3 separate regions of the Homo sapiens genome follow, and all the other regions are linked to region 1. Evidence: promoter capture Hi-C in 16 types of primary human blood cells and fetal thymus (Javierre and others, 2016). All regions are on one chromosome and are shown on one strand. Each heading gives the region's core, a stretch centred on a gene start or on the middle of the fragment in contact. The rest is flanking DNA. Distances are from core to core; before and after follow the strand shown. Region 1 holds the start of IDI2-AS1 (IDI2 antisense RNA 1). Region 2 overlaps LARP4B (La ribonucleoprotein 4B). Region 3 overlaps LARP4B (La ribonucleoprotein 4B).

Region 1 (2,700 bases), core at 10-2,509:
ACCAAGTTTCCTTACTGAGAGGTTCTACTTAATTTACCCAAGTAACAGCAATAGCGCTATGACGGGAGGTCACACTCTCCTCAGTAAATCTCTGTTCCCTCTCGTTCCTCAGACCCTCAGTGCTTCCTTCGGTCACTCTGCAAGGAGTTTGGCTGAAGTTGAATCCACTCTTGCAAGTACAAGAGCTGGTACTCCCACCTGCCCCTATGTATCCTGGAGGCGGCTAACACATGATAGGAAATCTTAGCTCCAGGGGCTTTATTTGCAAACTGTTGACTATGTACTACAGTTGACCCTCTTAACTTTGCAGCTCCTGAATTTTTCTGAAACAAACTTTGCATTCAGCTCCATCAAGGAGCCCGTGAGTACAACTTGACCAGCAAGTATGGTGGTGGGTTTGGGAATGGGCAGGATGTACCCACTGCGGCTCCGAGGAAGAACTAAGGGAGGAGAAAACCTCGGCCACAGCTGGCCGTGCTTAGCCATTCGCTTTAATGGCTCAGGCAAGGTCTGGTTTTGAAAATTTGAGGACAGCCTAGGCCAAAACACTTTAAATGACCACAATTGACGTAAATGCTGTTCCCCTCTAAAAAATTTTTTGGCCGGGCCCGGTGGCTCACGCCTATAATCCCAGCACTTTGGAAGGCCAAGACAGGCATATCACGAGGTCAGGAGATCGAGACCATCCTGGCTAACACGGTGAAACCCCGTCTCTACTAAAAATACAAAACGTTACCCGGGTGTGGTGGCGGGCGCCTGTAGTCCCAGCTACTTGGGAGGCTGAGGCAGGACAATGGCGTGAACCCAGGAGGCGGGGCTTGCAGTGAGCCGAGATGGCGCCACTGCACTCCAGCCTGGGTGACTGAGCCAGACTCCATCTCCAAAAAAAAAAAAAAATTTTAAGTTGTAATTTTAAGAAGTACAAGATAATTAAAACTCTAAGACCTGTAAGATAATTTTTATTATTATTACCTAGTTAATTTTATGCTAAATGCTATTTTAATCCCCTAAATCCTTAGGTTGATAAATTCCTCTGCATTTAAGTAACTTGCCGTTGCAAAGAAACAACAAAACAAAAAAACCCAGAAACTCATATAGTTTCTTACTTTTTTAAAAAAGAAAACCCAGCCTACTGAAGAGCTATCAGCATAATTAGCATCTGCCTAAGCTGCCGATTTTCTGCAGGATGAGCTGCCAGCTCACCACAGTGCGGCACTGAGCACCAGAGAGTTCCTGTCCCAGATTCCTCCGGTCAAGTCACATGAGATGCTCTCTTCAGTCCGGGGCTTGGTTGAACGGACTCACCAGGAAACGTGACTTTCGTGTCCGACCTCTGCTGTATCAGGATTCGATTCTTGGTGTTAAACAAGACAACGCTGAAGGCTCGGTGCAGCAGCCCTGCAAAGGTAAGTGCCATTTGTGTGAGTGCATGCCTGGAGTCTGTACGATTGTCCTTCGTGCTTTTTGTCCTCAGTCTGTTTCTCGTAGAAAAGCCTGTGATTGTGGCACCTGGGCAGGGCAAAGGGGACTGCTGGATGCCCAAACACAACGTTTCAGAATCTCAGCGGATTAGAACACTCGGGAAACTAAAAATAGATCTACCAGATGACCCAGAAATCCCACTACCAGGGCAAATATCCAAAATAAAAGAGATCAGTCTATCAGAGAGATATCGCAGCATTCCTGGGTGCTGAGCACCATTTACGACAGCCAAGATATGAGATCAACCTGTGTCCGTGGAGGTTTGAAGGGTTGAAAACATGAGGGTTAGATACACAGTGGCATACCATTCCACCACAAAAGAAGAATGAAATCGGGCCGGGTGCGGTGGCTCACGCCTGTAATCTCAGCACTTTGGGAGGCTGAAGTGGGCGGATCACGAGGTCAGAAGATCGAGACCACCCTGGCTAACATGGTGAAACCCCGTCTCTACTAAAAATACAAAAAAATTAGCTGGGCGTGGTGGCAGGTGCCTGTAGTCCAAGCTACTCGGGAGGCTGAGGCAGGAGAATGGCATGAACCCAGGAGGCAGAGCTGGCAGTGACCTGAGATTGCACCACTGCACTCCAGCCTGGGCAATGGAGCAAGACTCTGTCTCAAAAAAAAAAAAAAAAAGAAGAATGAAATCCTGTCATTTGTAGCAACATGGATGGAACTGGAGGCCATTGTGTTAAGTGGAACAAACCTGGCACAGAAAAACAAGTATCACATGTTCTCACTGCTATGTGGGCTCTAAAGAAGTTGATCTCATGGAGGCAGAAAACACAATGCTAGACACCAGAGGCTGCGAAGGGCAGTGGGGAGGGATGACGAGAGGGTGGTTAATAAGTATAAACATACCGCGATAGAGAAGGAATAATATCAGCTGTTCAATAGCACAGTAGGGTGACTGTAGTTAACAACAGTGTATTATATGTTTCAATGTGGCTAGAACAGAGGATTTGGAATGTTCCCAACACAAAGATATGATGAATGTTTGAGGTGATGGATATCCCAAAATGCCCTATTTGATCATTATGCATGACATGGTGGTATCAAACTATCACATGTACCCCATTAATATGCATAATTATTATGTGTTTATAAAAAAGACACAAAAATGAAAATTAAAAAATAATAAAATGGCTTAAGATGGTCAAAGAAAACCAGAGCTGGACAGGAGTTAAAGCAGGAAAGTCTGACTTTACTGAGAACCATTTC
Region 2 (2,700 bases), core at 128-2,627, 160 kb before region 1:
TTTGGTCTCCACCATTGGGGGAGGTACGATTTTCGGATCAGGTCGGGTGGCCGGTCTGAAGACAGGAACCCAAGACTTTTTGTTCTGCATACGTCAAGCGCTCGGGAGTTTGTCTTAATAAGAGGTCCCACGTGTAAGGGGCTTTTGTCATCTCAACTCCTGCTGCCTGGTTAGTCTGTGTCAACAAGAGTCTTTGCTGATTGAGCTCATTCCTGACAGTAAATGTTTTGTGGGAGGTATCTTTGGAATTGCTTCTTCTATGTCCTCTCCAGGATCTATCCTGGACTTTATACACCACTGAAAATTCTAAATGTCAATGGCCAAAAGATGGATCCTTTAAATTAGAATTGTAAATTTAAAAAAGGATTTTAGAAATCTCATCCTAAACAACTGATAAAAACATCAAGAGCAAAAAGGGTGCTTGGCATCACTAACCACTAGGAAATGCAAGCCAATTTCTAGAAAGACCCAACAATGCTATGGTTAGCCTTAAAAATTCTCTTTAAAATTAAAGAGCAAAAATCTGACCTGAAACAAAATTAAAAATTTTTTAAGCTTAAACTCCTACTTTGGATCCCCCTGTTGGTTAACAATGAGGGCTCCTCTATATTCTTGTAGGCCCACAGTTAAAATTCCAGGCTTTCCCTGCGGTGGCCTATTAGACACACAGCCCAATGCAACAGAAGAGAGGGCCGAGAAAGAAATCCTTGCATACATGGCCAATTGTTTTTTTTAACAGGCGTGCCACGATCGTTCTATAGAGAAAGGGCAGTCTTTTCAATAAATAGTGCAAGGACAACTGGATATCCACATGCAAAAACAAAGTTGGATCCATACTTTATACCATATACAAAAATTAACTCAAAATGATCAAAGATCTAAATGTAAGACCCGAAATGATAAAACTCAGACGAAAACACAGACAAAACCTTCATTATAATAAATTCAACAATGTTATCTTAGATATGACACCAAAGGCATAGGCAGCCCAACAAAAAATAAACAAACTGAACATTATGAACATTTTAAATTTTGTACATCAAAAGACACTTTGAATAAAATAAAAAGGCAACCCATATAATGGAAGAAAATAATTGTGATTGATGTATCTGATCAGGGATTAATACACAGAATATATTGAGAACTCCTAAAGACATTAACAAAAACCTGATTCAAAAATAGGCAAAGGATTTGAATAGACATTTATCCAAAGAAGACAAATGGCCAATAAGAACAAAAAGGGTGCTTGGCATCACTAACCATTAGGGAAATGCAAGCCAAAACTACAAAGATATACCCACTAGAATGACTACTATCAAAAAAATCAGAAAATAGGCTGGGCGCAGTGGCTCATGCCTGTAATCACAGCACTTTGGCAGGCCGAGGCAGACAGATCACCTGAGGTCAGGAGTTCGAACCCAGCCTGGACAACATGGTTGAACCCTGTCTCTACAAAAAATACAAAAGTTAGCTGGGTGTGGTGGCTCACGCCTGTAATCCCAGCACTTTGGGAGGCTGAGATGGGCAGAGGTCAGGAGTTTGAGACCAGACTGGCCAACATGGTGAAACCCCGTATCTACTAAAAATACAAAATTTAGCTGGGCGTGGTGGCTCACACCTGTAATCTAGGCTACTTGGGAGGCTGAGGCAGGAGAATTGCTTGAACCCGGGAGGTGGACGTTGTAGTGAGCTGAGATTGCTCCAGTGCACTCCAGCCTGGGCAACAGAATTATTCCATTTCAAAAAAAAAAAAAAATCAGAAAATAACAAGTATTGGCAAGGATTTAATAAAACTGGAACCCTTGTACACTGATGGTGGGAATGTAAAATACTATGGCCTGTATGGAAAACTGTATGGTGATTCCACCAAAAAAAGTTAAACATAAGAATTACCATATGATCCAGAAATTCTACTTCTGGAAGGCAGTTCAGCAGCTTTCTACAGAACTAAACATACTCTGACCTTATGATCCAGCAATCACACTCCTGGGTATTTACCCAAAGGAGTTAAAAACTTCCTTCCGTACAAAAACCTGCACATGAATGCTAACAGCATCTTTATTTGTAATTGCCAAAACCTGGAAACAACCAAGATGTCCTTCAGTAGGTGAATGACTAAGTAATTTGTAGTATGTCCAGACAATGGAATGTTATTCAGTGCTAAAAAGAAATGAGTTATCAAGCCTTGAAGACATGGAGGAAGCTTAAATGTACGTTACTAAATGAAAGAAACCTATCTAAGAAGGCTACATCCTGCAGGATTCCAACCCTATGACATTCTGGAAAAGGTAAAACTATGGAGACAGTGAAAAAACCAATGGATGCTAGGGGTTGGGGGGAGGGAGGGGTGAGTAGGCAGAACACAGATGACTTTTAGGGCAGGGAAACTACTCTCTCTGATGCTACAATGGAGGGTACATGTCATTATACATTTCTCCAAACCCACAGAACGTACAACACCAAGAGTGAGCCCTCATGTAAACTGTAGACTCCAGGTAATAATGATGTGCCAATATAGGATCATCAATTATACAAAGGCACCCTCTGGTGAGGGAGTGTGAATAGTGAAGAAGGCCATGCATGTGTGGGGGTGGGGGGGAGGGGAGTATATGGGAGATCTCTATACCTTCCACTAAAACTCGCTGTGAACCTGAAAGTGCTCTAAAAAAAACAGTCTTTTTTTTAAAAAGGATGTTTGAT
Region 3 (2,700 bases), core at 85-2,584, 180 kb before region 1:
ATCAACTGAGAAATCATCCCAGTGGGGCAGCAGCGTTTGCAAGGTCTGTCCGAAAAGGAATAACTAAACCTGAAACTCCTAATCATAACCAAAAAGACTTCAGAGTACAAACAGGGACAAGAATGCTGCTGGCCTTTCAAAGATGGGGCCCAATTCAGCTGGCACAGACAACAGCTTCTGTTCTGCATGATGACACCAGGGAGCACGGCGCCATCCTGGGAGACAGCAGTGCCGCTCTCAGAACTCACAGTCAATGGTAATTATGTTTGTCAGTTTTTTCACTGTCTCCAATAATTTAATAACCCATGCTATTTGTCTAAAAACAGAAAAACATAAAACTTTTATTTTATATTTTATTTGTGAAAAGAAAATCCAACTAAGTTCTCATGTAAGATGCTCACTTTTTTATACTACTGTAAAGTCAAATTCATACAAGAAAAAAAAAAAACCTGCACAGACTGTCGTCAGTACAGATAAGCCAGGGACAACGTGAAAACCCTTCTATGTGAGTATAGGCAGTGGACTTAATTGAGACTTGAAGTCAGGCTTAGCAATGTCCAATCACTCAAAACTATGTAGGGGCACCATCCACACTTAATGCTTAAACACTGTTTGATGTTGCCAAACTTCAAAGAAACAACTTCACTCACAACATAATTTTTTTTTTTTTTTATGAGATGGAGTCTATCTCTGTCGCCAGGCTGGAGTGCAATGGCACAATCTCAGCTAACTGCAACCTCCGCCTCCTGGGTTCAAGTGATTTCCCTGCCTCAGCCTCTCAAGTACCTGGGATTACAAGCACACACCACCACGCCCAGCTAATTTTTTGTATTTTAGTGGAGACAGGGTTTCACCATGTTGGCCAAGACAGTCTCAATCTCCTGACCTCATGATCCGCCCAACTCGACCTCCAAAAGTGCTGGGATTACACGCGTAAGCCACCACACCTGGCCCACAACATAATTTTAAGAAAAATTGCAATAATTATTTCATCCGAACATAAACAGGAAGTTGCAATTTGAAAGAAAAACCTCTAGTGGTAAAACTGTAACTAAAGTGTATTTTACTTTAACTATAAATGTTATTTTTATTTTGTTTTTCATGAATGAAACAGCTATCTTTAAAATCCCCATTAACAAGATTCTTTTCTACTTCATATGTCCCAAAACTTGTTTGAGGTTTCATAACGGGTTCAACTGGCATTCCCAGGGACTATCAGGCGCTACTCCAGAATTATTGGACCTGGGCAGAAAGGAACGGAAGGCCAGAAAAGAATCTGATTCGCCATCAAGGACCTTAACGTTTGATGGCTATAGATTTAAAGGTTCATGCTGATAAGACAAATACTCTAAGGACAAGTATTATTAATTTAAATTGTCATTTACTTACATCTTAGCACTTCCACAATCAAGTCCACATCAGTGCTGAGCTTCTTGATGTGGTCGAGGTTAGCCACCGTTGTGATTGGCACATACTGGTCACTATCCATCTGTGATATAAGATACATGTCACTAGCAAGGTTCTCCCTGTTGAAAGAAAACAATCTCTTTTAATCAGTATTTCTTTAAAAGGAAGTTTCACCTACTGTAATTCCAGTTTCACAAGAGGCGTGAGTGTGGCATGGTATTGCTTTGGAGTTAAATCTCAGCCCAGGACCCATCTGTTATTTGCTGTCTCTCCAGCCTCAGGTACATTTTTGCAAAATCTCGGCCTTGGAGAGGCAGGGAGTGCAAAAGTAAAAGTATACTGTACTTTCTACAATCAAAATTTATGAGAAGATGGTTATTTTTAAATAAGATGTAATTATTTATAGCTGTCATTTTTGTCCTAAGAAGTAGCTTAAGAGTTTATTAAAAATGCATACAATTTTGTTAGGCCGGGCACGGTGGCTCACGCCTGGAATCCCAGCACTTTGGGGGGCCAAGGTAGGCAGATCATCTGGGTTCAGGAGTTTAAGACCAGCCTGACCAACATGGTGAAACCCCATCTCTACTAAAAATACAAAAATTAGCCAGGCATGGTGGCGGGCACCTGTAATCCCAGCTACTCGGGAGGCTCAGGCAGGAGAATCGCTTGAACCCGAGAGGTGGAGGTTACAGTGAGCCAAGATCACACCACTGCACTCTAGCCTGGGCGACAAGAGTGAAACTCTGACTCAAAAAAAAAGAAAGAAAAACAATTTAAAGTAAAGAAATCCAGCTCAATGAACAAGAAAGGAAAACATAAAAAGGCCAGGATAAGGTCATACCCAAAATTCCTCCTGTAGACTCTGGAACACTCACCAGAGGGCCTATATCCAGCCCTGGCTTCCTAGCAGCCAGAATTAAAAAGAAGGAAACAGTAACTTTACCCACAAAATCCAAAGGTGAGCCACAAATCATCAGCAGTTTGGGCCATGATGAGCTATTTTCTGGTGTTTTGGCCAAAGATCAATGTTTCCTGTGAATTCTCAAGGCATCATGTAATGTAGTGAACAAGGCCCTAAGAAACATTTCAAAACTGAGCACAGTGCTGGGTTCCTGGGGCCTCTGCTCAGTGTCCCTCGGTGAAGGCCCATGACTGCCGATCAAACGGAGGCCATGCAGGAGGAGGCCCTGCTCCACCCTCATCTCGGCCATCTTCCAGGTGTAGCTGATTCTGGCCCCATGGGGCTACACATGGATGTGAGTGGCAGAGAGCTCACACTTGTGCTCCACTAGG

The links. Contacts are between HindIII fragments. The CHiCAGO score rates a contact against its expected background, and 5 or more counts as called.
Region 2: a contact is called between a fragment that was not itself captured here and the fragment with the promoter of IDI2-AS1 in region 1, in 1 of 17 cell types (monocytes). The highest score is 5.5, in monocytes.
Region 3: a contact is called between a fragment that was not itself captured here and the fragment with the promoter of IDI2-AS1 in region 1, in 1 of 17 cell types (monocytes). The highest score is 6.9, in monocytes.

Annotation. Positions count from the first base shown.
Region 1 is chr10:1,021,378-1,024,077 of GRCh38, forward strand. IDI2-AS1 (IDI2 antisense RNA 1) reads left to right here and starts at 1,260. Exons shown (of 5, transcript NR_027709.1): 1 at 1,260-1,406. It overlaps IDI2 (isopentenyl-diphosphate delta isomerase 2), which reads right to left. Exons shown (of 5, transcript NM_033261.3): 3 at 1,306-1,398. The HindIII fragment of the contact is 10,709 bases long and covers 1-2,700 here.
Region 2 is chr10:857,536-860,235 of GRCh38, forward strand. All of the region lies in intron 5 of LARP4B (La ribonucleoprotein 4B), which reads right to left. Among named protein-coding and RNA genes, the nearest start is that of LARP4B, 73 kb to the right of the region's middle. The HindIII fragment of the contact is 1,648 bases long and covers 554-2,201 here.
Region 3 is chr10:841,543-844,242 of GRCh38, forward strand. LARP4B (La ribonucleoprotein 4B) reads right to left here. Exons shown (of 18, transcript NM_015155.3): 7 at 1,390-1,526. Among named protein-coding and RNA genes, the nearest start is that of LARP4B, 89 kb to the right of the region's middle. The HindIII fragment of the contact is 4,915 bases long and covers 1-2,700 here.